Regions from separate parts of the Homo sapiens genome. Here region 1 is linked to region 2. The links are contacts of gene promoters, found by promoter capture Hi-C in blood cells and fetal thymus (Javierre and others, 2016). All regions are on one chromosome and are shown on one strand. Each heading gives the region's core, a stretch centred on a gene start or on the middle of the fragment in contact. The rest is flanking DNA. Distances are from core to core; before and after follow the strand shown. Region 1 overlaps GABRR3 (gamma-aminobutyric acid type A receptor subunit rho3). Region 2 holds the start of OR5K4 (olfactory receptor family 5 subfamily K member 4).

Evidence for each region. The method cuts DNA at HindIII sites, captures the fragments that hold promoters and counts their contacts. A CHiCAGO score of 5 or more calls a contact.
Region 1: a contact is called between a fragment that was not itself captured here and the fragment with the promoter of OR5K4 in region 2, in 2 of 17 cell types (M1 macrophages and endothelial precursors). The highest score is 5.1, in M1 macrophages.

The regions. Positions count from the first base shown.
Region 1 is chr3:98,028,261-98,034,477 of GRCh38, forward strand. The region is part of intron 2 of GABRR3 (gamma-aminobutyric acid type A receptor subunit rho3); the gene reads right to left. Among named protein-coding and RNA genes, the nearest start is that of GABRR3, 3.9 kb to the right of the region's middle. The HindIII fragment of the contact is 625 bases long and covers 2,497-3,121 here.
Region 2 is chr3:98,349,169-98,355,285 of GRCh38, forward strand. It overlaps OR5K4 (olfactory receptor family 5 subfamily K member 4), which reads left to right and starts at 4,686. Exons shown (of 1, transcript NM_001005517.1): 1 at 4,686-5,651. The coding sequence starts at 4,686. The coding sequence ends at 5,651. The HindIII fragment of the contact is 1,273 bases long and covers 4,437-5,709 here.

The sequences.
Region 1 (6,217 bases), core at 1,559-4,058, 320 kb before region 2:
TAGATGGAAATATTGAGAAAGTTTGTTCATATATGTGGAAGTACATGGAATTTGAAGAAATTTTGTTTCAGTATTCTTTTAACAAAGCAACTTAATTACTTAAACTCCTTACTTACTTTTCAAAACTCACACTGTAGAATTTATCTTCAACAATCAGTTTAATTATTTATAACCTGACAAATTAATTAGGTTCTTCCTTCAATTTTGTTAAAAGCAAAAAATAGAGAATTGCCATTAAGAAAAGTACAGCATCATCCGCTATCTCAACAACAATATTTGTAATGATCTCTTTGTACCCAGGAACTTTTTACACGCTGGGGCAATACTCGTAGGATTCAGGAAGAGGGAGAGGGATGCCTGTATATTGCCAGGTGGGACAGAGCAATCATTAAAAGGAGGTAATAAAGGACACTGCAGGTGGTGAGTAGATCAGTTTTAAGAAAGAGGTCAGAGGGAAGTTAAAGATCCAAAAACTGTTTTAAAACTATTCATGTCTACATGCCCCTCAGATACCTTGCATCTACCCTTAGAGGTATAATACATTGTACCCCAGGAGGATAGACACCCTCGTTTGAAGGCCTCTGATGCATACATAGGAAGGTAAATAAAATGAAGGATGAAATAAAACCAAGGAGACAGAAGGAAATTTGCTTAATAAAGGATCACTATATCATGGAGCATCAGATTTATCTCAGAGTGTTCTAGTCTTATTCTATACACATACCACTTTAAATCCCTTTGTGTCTTCTCCCCTCTCCCCCATTCTAGAAAAAAAAAATGATTTCAGTTTAGCCGCTACTGAGAAGAAGCTTTTGGATTTCTTCTGTCTGAGGAGAGGATCTTCTAGGAGTCTGAGTCCTGATGGGATCAGGCAAAGAAATCTCAATTCGTGGGAGAGCCTCTCACTGGCATTCCTAATTTTTGTCCTTTCCCACAAAGTATTATGAAGATTGAGAAACAGTAGGCGTGAGTCTTGGTAATAGGTGTGGTTTTTCTCTTTGAATTGGGGCCTCTTCCTTCCTGGGTCACACAAAGAAAACATATTTCTATGCTCCCTCTTCTCAGTGTCAGAAACTCTACTGTAATTGTGTGACAAAGAAAGCAGAGGTCTGGGAGGAGGGAAAGGCTTGATTCTGAGTGGTCTCAGGGGGACTAAGAGGGTCTTTGAGGAGGACATAGTAGTCAAAGGATTAAAAACTAGAACTGATTGAGGAAAAGGAAATGCACCTAACTCATTCTGCGGCATTGGAGTTTTATAAGTGGAATGATAAAAAATCATCTGACTTGAGTCACACACACTCGGTTGGCTGCCTTATAAAACTGCTTTCCCTGGAGCCTGGAGGCCTACATATTTGATGAGTTAACTAGAATCAGAATTTGAAAAGAACTAGGTCTGACACGAAGAGACTAGTTACCCAAGGGAGGACATAATTAATAAGCAAATTTAAAAGTATTTAATTGAGGGGGTCAAGAGTGTGATACCAATTGAAGCCATAACTGTCATTTTATATCTATTAAATTAGCAAAAGACAAAAAATAATGTTAGTGCCCCATGCTGTGAAGGATATGATGAGGCCAGGTGCGATGGCTCACACCTGTAATCCCAGCACTTTGGGAGGCGAAGGCGGGCGGATCACTTGAGGTCAGGAGTTCGAGACCAGACTGGCCAACATGGTAAACCCCATCTCTACTAAAAATACAAAAATTAGCCAGGTGTGGTGGTGGGAGCCTGTAATTTCATCTACTCAGGAGGCCGAGGCAGGAGAATCACTTGAACCTGGGAGGCAGAGGTGGCAGTGAGCCGAGATCGTGTCACTGCACTCCAGCCTGGGTGACAGAGTGAGACTGTCTTGGAAAAAAAAAAAAAAAGGATATGATTAAATCCTTTTCATTTTGCAGGTGGGAGTATAAATATTGGTAAACTCCCCTAGAAATTCATCTCAAGAACTATAAAAATATTTCATGTGCTTTACTCAATTATACAATTCCAGAAAAATCATAATTTTCTCGGTAAAGAAAAAAATAAAATGTGTGAAAACATTTATTGCTGTTACTTATAATAGTGCAAACTTGAAAATAAATGTTCAGAAACAAAGGAGATAATTCTTGTCCTTTAATTCAAATTAATAATATGGAGTGATTAAAATACCATTATGGTGTCTATGAAGCAATGTGAGAAATGCTTAAGTGAAGAAAATACAAAATGGTTTCTATGCTATGATTTTAAACATGGAAAAATCATGTAGTTTCATGAATCAGGATTAGACGTGAGCTTGGAAAAACAAAAGCATAACTGGATTCTAGGTATCTTTTTCCACATAAAAATCCATTATTGCTATTGTTATTTGTATCATAAATTATCTAGAAAAAATTGAACTTGCCATTTATAATCCTTTCCAAATAAGAATCTGGTCAAAACTCTCCACCTTATCACTCCATTCTCCTTGTCATTCTAGAAGCATGGCCTCTTGATAACATGGACGTTTTTCTCAGTCAAGCTTTACTGTGAACCAGTGCACACTGAAACTCAGCTAACTGTTCCAAATAATGTAGGCAAAATTTTAAAAACTTTTTGTAGGCTTATTATTTTTCTTTAGAAAAATACAAAATGAAGCAAAAATGTTCTATTAGGCTATATACATGGATGCAAATCCAAGGAATAAGGTAAAGTAGTGGGAAAATCAATTGGTCCAATTTTTCATCACGAAGAAAACCTTCATAATTCTTGATCCAATCTTTATTTCCAGGCTCTGGATGTTTTTGAAAAGTCTTAGAGAAAACGTGGTACATCAGATGTAGTGAATCTTATGGCTCTGATTGAACTCCTAACTTCTGAACTCTGGAAATACATACCTGACTTTTTCAATAGCCTGTCTCTTGTAAAGGAAAAAATCTAGGCAGATGAACATTTCTGTGGAAAAGCCAGCCAGAGAGAATGCTTCACTTGAAACACGACAGTTCCCACATCTCACTTGGGTCTCTGTCAGATCACAAGCTCAGTGAGGAGGCCTCAGTTTCCTCATCTGTGAAATGAGGAAATTAGACCAGATTAGCAGCTAGTCTGCAGACATTTTTAAAAAATGGTTCACGTGGTACATTAACTTGGAAAAATTCAGAGAAAAGCTTGGATTTCTTGCTTCTTTTGAAAAAAATCAGAAAATCTGGCCACACGAGGCTCAAGTTCTCTTATAACAAGAGAAGGCTGTGGGCACGGTGGCTCATGCCTATAATCCCAGCACTTTGGGAGGCCAAGGCTGGAGGATCATTTGAGGCCAGGAGTTTGAGTCCAGCCTGGGCAACATAGACAGACCCAATCTCTACCAAAAAAATATAAAAGCCAGGTGTAGTGGCACACGCCTGTTGTCCCAGCTACTTGGGAGGTTGAGGTGGGAGGACCACTTGAGCACAGGTGTTTGAGGTTATAGTGAACTATGATTGGACCACCGCACTCCAGCCTGGGCAAGAGAACAAGACCTTGTTTCAGAAAAAAAAAAGTTAAAAATTAAAAAACAAACAAAAACAAGAGAAGGCTGAACCTGACCAGCCAGTTTCCCTCAGAGGAGCATATACCTTGTAGTTGTAGTCTCTGCCACTCTCTTCTGTCTTGCTTGCAGTAGCATTGGATTTGCCATGCCTGAGAACCTACTGGCTTTTACATTAGGTTCAGGGTAATGTTTAACAAGTGACTCTTTAGGAAAAAAAGCCCCAGTTTATAGTAGTGTTTTATTTCCATGGTGTAAATACTTCCACCATGGCTGATTTCAGGCTACCAACAACATGCATGGCAGAGATGTGTCTAGCACATAGTATAGTATAGTATAGTATAGTATAGTATAGTATAGTATAGTATAGTATAGTATAGTAATGGTATACTGTAGTATTTCTACAATACAGTTACAATAGACCTAAATAACCTCAAGAGCAACAGATGATAAAGTGTGGAGAAATCATTGGGAAGTGGTGAGTTTTAAGTATTTGCTACCTTTATTTTAGAAAGTATTTAATTTAATTGCAGGCTTATATAATTTATTTTTTAATAATGTGTGCTTTTAACAGCCAGCTGATAAATTTCCTGAAAATGATTGGCTGTTGCAAGCCAGACTGAGCAGACTCCAGCACTCTGCTGATTATTTTCAAGGCCAGAGTCAATACGTTGCTCTTATAGCATTTTTAGCCCCAACCCAGCACTTGCATGTAAATATCACTCAGTGTAATTGTTGAAAGAATGAATAAATATTCAGTGAGTCTATTTGCTTAATCCTCTTTGCATCATCCAGGAGTAAAATTTCTTCTCTAGGTAAAAGGGGAACATTTTCCACCTGCCATAACTTACTTTATTCACACCTCTCCCTACTTTGTTTTTAGGAAACAAAAGATATGTTTGAATACATATTTTTTTAAAGTCTTTAGGTTTTGAAAGAAGGGAATCTCTGGATTAAAAAGTGAGGTTATATTCTGAATGAAAACAACTAAAAGCAAAACATTTAAGAGCCTTATTGTATAAAAACTGGCCCCAAACAATGCATATATAAATCCCCCTTATAATTTTCAAAGATCATGTCTTCCTTTCATGTTCACTCTATTAGTTCTTTTGCATTATAGAAGAGTGGATTATTCATTAATTCATTCATTACTTAATTATTGGCTGATAATCAGGTCGGGTGCTGGGCAAAGAACCTCACAGTATCTATTCACATACTAAGGTAGGAAGACTCCTGGGCCTCTTACTCTAAAAATGACTCTATACAGTAATTACTGTATTTTGGTCAAATGCCCTAAAATCTGCATGACAGAGTGCTTGAATGACAGCTCAGAAATTGGCTGGCTGTGTTACTCTGTTCACTCAGGGAAAATGCCTGGGTTTCATTCTAAGTGGCTACTTCTGGACCAGTGTGATGGTTTATGCAATCTCCAGTGCCCTGGAGGGTGTTTCTTTGAAGAACAAAAGAAGCAGATATAAATTTTAATGAATCCCATTCTGGCTTGTGACTCAAAGGAGCACTTCATTTAGGAATATAGAAGTGACAACAAATATGATTGGCCCCACATGGCCGAAATCCTGGCGTTTCCTACGGGGGAAGTCTGCTTTTGCATAGGCTCTAAAATTCTTCTTTTCCTTTACATAGGATCTAAAAATGAGGCATTTAACATCAGAAAAAATTTCTACCTCACCACAAAGAACCAATGTTCTTTTCTTTTTCTTTAAATGTCACCTAAAAAATATACATGGTAGATTTTTTCTGTAGCAACTCTGCCACTGATAGTGGGTTGGTGTGATGAATTAGCTACTATAGTCATCTCTCTTCTCCTCATCTAAACATCCACCAGACTGTACAAGTCTACTCTATGGATGACAGATAATATTTTAAGCAGTGTCCTTTGATTTTTAAAATTAGATAAAACATACTATAAAACGTAATAAGCTATATGAAAAAAAATAGAGTCTGGTGGTACACTCTTACATTTCCCAAATATTTCCTTAGCTAATTGCTATGACGAAGACTGGGAAAGTGGTTAAATGGAACAAGACTTCATATCATCTCAGGTCTGGGTCTGGGAGCAGAAGCATGGAAGGGAAGTGTGAGCAGTAGTCCCTGATTTTTAATCGCAGTGCAGGAATCAGTAATCTAGTAACACACTTCTTTTGGTTTTGGTCATTAAACCTGAGACTTCAGAAGATATTTATCAAAATTTTATGTTCTCTTTCCTGATCTTACAGTGAATGCATAATACATATTTAGGATGTGAGAGCAATCTAGCTTAAACATCTGTCACCCCATTGGCTGCCAGTGTTGACCAGATGATACTCTTCATTCCTCAATTTCTCCTTTTGGGTCTTTTTGGAAATATGGTGCTTGGTGAAAAGAGAACTCTTTCTCAAAGACATTATTTGATTATTAAAGGTATATGGGTAGTAGGGTGACAAATCATTCCAGTATGCCTGGGGCTGAAGGGATTCCTGGCATTTTTAGTACTAAAACCTATAAAGCCCTAGGCAAATTGGTGTATAAAGAGGTCACTCTCACAGATAGCTATCTCCCTTACTAGCACGTCCAAACATGCTCCTGATTATTGATGGGAAGATAATAATGATGATGTCTTGATATTCATGATTTGTCAAACGTATGAAAATTATTCTTGAAAGACAAATGGCTTTAATGCCTTTTGATACTATTTCATCAATCCATGAAACTATATACCCTAGAAATACTTGACA
Region 2 (6,117 bases), core at 3,436-5,935:
AACCTTTATTTTGTCCTTTGATGTCAGTATGATATTTAACTAAGTGAACTGTAACTACTATCAATATGAAATTGTGCAACACAGATAAAATCTTGAAACATGTTTAGTATGTTTTTCTATATCCTCATATAATACTCTGGGCAAAAATTATCTGATAACATACTAAAAACTCTCATGTTTGCTTATTTTTTAAAAAATTTGGAAACACAATGTTTCCACCTTCATAAAAATATTCCACATATTTTAAGAGAAATTTGAACTTGTTTTTCAAATTTAAAAATTTTTAATTTGCTTACACTTTTTAATTTTCTTACAAAACAACTGATTGACATCAGAGAGTATGGTGATTTACTGGCTAAATATCAGGCAAGCCTTTTCTAAATTAGTGTCTAGTATTTAAAACAAAGTGCCATAATTTTGTAAAAGTACCCAAGGTTGTACTTTTATTTTAAGGAATTTGTGCGTGTGAGGAAAGGAAGAAAAGAGGATCTAAGAGAAAACATGGAGAAAGAACAGCCCGAGATGTAGCAATAAACAAGCATTAAATCACAGAAGCCTGAGAAGCAAATATGCTTCAGAGTGTGGTCAATGGTGCCAAATCATAAAATTAATTAGTTAAGATAATAATTTAAAAAAATGCTTTAGGTGTGGTAATTAGGAGTTGAGTAGTGATCTTAGTGAGAGAGTGGCGATGAGAACCTCCAACTCCTTCCTGTCATGAGCCCAGACTCTGGCTACTCTGGTTCACTCTCCATTCACTGAATATGCTTTGTGCTTTCAAGTTTCCATGCTTTTACTTCTAATCATGCCGCTCCTTCAACCTGTAATTCTTTGCTACACATTCTTCTTGCCTATTGAAATTTAATTTATCCTTCAAGAATCATGAGAAATGTCATTTTGTATAATGTCTTCTCTTAGTTCTCTAAGTCCTTCTTTGTGTTCTCATATACCTTGCTTATAGTTCAGTTTGTAATACTTAACTCAGCCTGAGTTTCTATATTATATCATTGTATAAGTGATTTTATCCTCTAGATTGGGAGCTCTCTAAGGGCAGGATTATTTCTTATTTATCTATTCAGGTTCCTGCCCTAACTCACTCCTACCACATACCCCTCCTTGCGCAATGTCTTACTCCATGACTTCTCTATTGTAGTCACTCTATAATGTTGAAGTTAATTTAATTGAAATTTCTGCAAGCAATTCAATAAGCATTCACCGACGGCCTACATTTTCTGGAACTATGAGGGATTTGCAGTGTGGAAAACCAAAAAGAAAATCAATCTAAGAATAAACAAAACTTGCACATGAAGAACAGCTGAATGAACACAGGAGTGAAGTACAATTAAGAGCTCTTTGCATCACACAAACAGTCATTATCTTGCAGATCAGAAAGTTGAGGATGTCTTCATAATGAGAATCAGATCTCATAAAAATTGAGTAAGATTTGGATAGAAGAATAAATCAAAGAGGGCATTTCATGTGAAGAGTAGATTCTGAGTAAATATTCTGAGGTCAAGGTTAAACTCTAACACATCAAGGAATAGATAAGTTATAGGCGTGTCTCTGGAGATGGATTCTTAAAGGTGAATGGTAGAAAATAGCCTTAAGTGATATAAGCCCTCTGTATGGAGCCCTTGGAGTACCAAGATAAAGGACAAAACTTGGTTTGAAGACTAATGAGAAGCCAAAAATATTTCTAATGCATAAGAGCATATCTACACACTAGAGAAAAGATGGGGATAGGAGACCAATTAACAAGTAAGTTATCTTATGATGATGGCATTGATTATGGTAATAGTTTTGTGGGTGTATACTTATGTCCCAATTTATCAAGTTGTATACATTATATGTGTATAGCTTTTTGCACATAAATCATACCTCAATTAAGTTTTTTAAAGTTACCTTATGACAAATAAGTGAAACTGAAGAACATAATGTCAGACTTACTTCAGAGGATGAATGTACAAGATTTGACCAGATTAATTTGGGGAGCAAAAGAAAGGAATACAACCCTGGGTGATCCTGCCACATTTTTGCCTCTTGTCCACAAATACAAATCTCTCTTCAAATCTCTGTTTAACTTCCACCTCAACTGATCAATGTAAATCTTTTTCTCTCCATCATAGTTTTCAGGTAATCAAGGGGTGTGTGTGTGTGTGTGTGTGTGTGTGTGTGTGTGTGTCTGTGTGTAAGAGAAAGAGAGAGTTTCCAAGTATGTGAAAAATCAAGATGAACCTTAAGCTGTTTTTAGTGATAGCAATTTTGATTTAACTTCCGAATCTCAAAATGCATCCATCTTTATATGCTGTTTGATTTACTGGTGCTGGGGGAACCATGCTCATCAGATTAGAGTCTCTGCAGAAACACTCTGATGCCAATGCCGAGGAAGTCCCTTTAGAATAGAAAACTTTAACTTTGCCTGAGACTTGCATAACTATTGTCACTAACCTATTGGTAGGGAGTGTCCTAGATTTTTATAATTTATTCCCTAATGATTTAAAAACCAATGTTTTTATTCTTAATTTCCCTACAAAGAAAAAACATCAGGAGACCAGTCAGCTACTATAAAATGTTTCTCAGTGAACTCAAAATATGAGGACTTAATTTTATTTACTAATTTATTTATATTATAGTATCAAAATGCAGAATATAAATTTTCTAATATACTTCAGTATTTTTATTGTTTTTAAATTTTAGCCACTTAATAATTCTCTTTGTCTCTAAAGTGAAGCCATTATAGAAAGCCATAAGGAGACATAGTAAGTGGATAAGTCTGACCTATTCTTTGTTCAAAAGTACCATAATTTTATCAGCAAATACACAGATAAGGCTGATGATGTCCTTGTACAGTAATTCTGCGATCTATAGGCAAATTAATTTTTGATTAAGTTCAAAAATTATATTTTACATTGGTGAAGAGAAAATGAGATTTTACTCATTATATTCTGAAATATGATCTATATAAAATAATTATTGATAATAAAATCCATTTTTCCACAGTCCACCTGATAAATATTTTCAGTTGATTTTCCATTAGATGTTACTAAAATAATGATAAAGAGCAGCATTTTATACTTTTACAAAGTTTTTTTAAAAATATAATTCTGAAAGATTTTTTAAAAGAGGTATAGACCTAAAATATAAAGGACATTTTATTGTATTCATTTGATTACAAGCCTCTAGTGATAAAACTCCAGAAAACCTCATCATATTATGTGAGTCAATAGAAAAACAAAAGTAAGAAACAGAGAAAACCTAACCAAAATGTTTTCAAAGTAATTCACTGGCCGGGCGAGGTGACTCATGCCTGTAATCCCAGCATTTTGGGAGGCCGAGGCGGGCGGATCGCCTGAGGTCAGGAGTTCGAGACCAGCCTGACCAACATGGTGAAACCCCGTCTCTACTAAAAATACAAAATTAGCCAGGCATGGTGGCTCATGCCTGTAATCCCAGCTACTCGGGAGGCTGAGGCAGGAGAAGTGCTTGAAACTCTGTCTCAAAAAAAAAAAAAATGTGCTTTGAATTAACTATCGTAGGCTCTTCTCCAAAATTGTCTGTTTGGAGTATGCTAAGGCTAAAGACTTTTAGAAACTTCTAAAAGAAAAGAAAGTTAATTTTATTATTCTTTAAAACTCAAATTGTTTCTGTACCTGAAATATTTTAATGTACAGTTGCCAAACTATAAGAACTATATAATAAATTTAGTTGATCATTAAACTCAAATAAATATATAGCCAGTAAAGAGTAGATAATGAGTTTGTAAATTTAAATAAATTTAAAACTCAAGTAAATAAATGGAGAACCTCCATAGAACTCACTGAAAATGAAGACATTACTTTCTATGAGAGATGTTTGAGTGAATACAAAATAGATATTTACCATGAAGAATATTCACATTATGAGTGGAGATTTTGCCACCAAATCTTACAATGTTGGACATGCATGTAAAACTCTTAAAACTAGAGACAGAAAGTATTAGGATAAGTGAGCAATTAAGAGTAATAACTCCTTGGGAAATTTGTCATACCAAGATTGGAATAGTATCTAGAATATGTTGAAATGAACATAAAAATGATATCCAATACAATGATTAAGAACACTCATAGATGTTTCATATTCTTATCCTCTCTAAAAGGATGAGTAGATATCTCATAAAATATGCAATTGGTGACCTTATCTGGAAAGGGTTACTAAGCTAGCAAAAGCATTCTTCAAATCACTGTGTTTCTGTGCAGTTTTTAAAATGTAGACATTTAAAATGCCTTAAGAGTAATTCATTTTAAGCGTCACATTGATCCAATAGGATACGATTTAAAACTTGTTTACTTTTTCCTGGAGGAAAAGATACCATAAGAAAATGTCTTAATTTTGGAAATGGAAAATTATATGTACTGACCACAGATTTTACATCGGCATAGGATAATTCATGCAGATAAAGCTTTCCTGCCCTAGGAATTCACACAGATATTTTCAGACAAGCCCTGGGTACACAATCCATGATACATTTTTTCTCACTTGATTTGACCCACAGTGAGTGTGCTAGTGTTTAGGAGATGGCACAGGATAATTTGAAGAAGACTTTCTTCCCTTTTGTATACAGGGAAATTAGAGGGTGAGAATTAGAAACATTCTGCTTTGGAATCTTACATTTCTTTACAATTTATGTCTCAGAAGAGAAGCCAGGAATGGCTAGGGAAAATCACTCCTTAGCAGCTGAATTCATCCTCATAGGATTTACAAATTATCCAGAGCTGAAGACGCTTCTGTTTGTGGTGTTCTCTGCCATCTATCTGGTCACCATGGTGGGGAATCTTGGTCTGGTGGCATTAATTTATGTAGAGCGTCGTCTTCTCACACCAATGTACATCTTTCTGGGCAACCTGGCTCTGATGGATTCCTGCTGTTCCTGTGCTGTTACCCCCAAGATGTTAGAGAATTTCTTTTCTGAGGATAGAATTATTTCCCTGTATGAATGTATGGCACAATTTTATTTTCTCTGTCTTGCTGAAACCACAGACTGCTTTCTTCTGGCGACAATGGCCTATGACCGCTATGTGGCCATATGCCACCCACTGCAGTACCACACCATGATGTCCAAGACGCTCTGCATTCGGATGACCACAGGGGCCTTCAAAGCTGGAAACCTGCATTCCATGATTCATGTAGGGCTTTTATTAAGGTTAACTTTCTGCAGGTCTAATAAAATTCACCACTTTTTCTGTGATATTCTTCCACTGTATAGACTCTCCTGTACAGATCCTTCTATTAATGAACTAATGATATATATCTTTTCAATACCAATTCAAATCTTTACCATTGCTACTGTCTTGATCTCTTATCTCTGCATCCTTTTGACTGTTTTCAAAATGAAATCCAAGGAGGGAAGAGGTAAAGCATTTTCTACCTGTGCATCCCACTTTCTCTCTGTCTCAATATTTTACATTTGTCTTCTCATGTATATTGGACCATCTGAAGAAGGAGATAAAGATACACCAGTGGCAATATTTTATGCAATAGTAATCCCATTACTAAACCCTTTTATTTATAGTCTGAGAAATAAGGAGGTCATAAATGTTCTTAAAAAAATTATGAGGAATTATAACATTCTTAAACAAACTTGCTCTATAGCAAATTTATTTTTAATTTATTAAAATGCTTTCATAAAGAGGGAACATAGAAAAATTAATATGTGATTTTACACAAAATGTAAGCTTATAAATCATTAGGCTATGTTTGTTTAAAAAATATATCAATGGAATTTCAAAATTGTTTCACAAATCTTTATCCAAATCCCACAACCAGAATGAATCGGGGAAACTCACTGGTAACTGTTATTACTACCTTTCATGACTCTCATGGAATTGTCAGAGAGTATTATCCTAAACCTCAATTAATCAACATAGCATGAAAGTTAAATGTTTAAATGTGTAGAAGAGTCTTCTTTGATTAATGTTTCCTAGTTAATGGAAGACATTATATCCAATCCTATGTAGCGTGTTTGAAACATTTAAAATTTCCTGGCAGAAAAGTGAAATGATAGTTTTCTTTCAGAAAACTGACCTGAGAGACACATGTGGATTACTTTAGAGTGGAAAAGACTAGAAGCAAACTAATTGC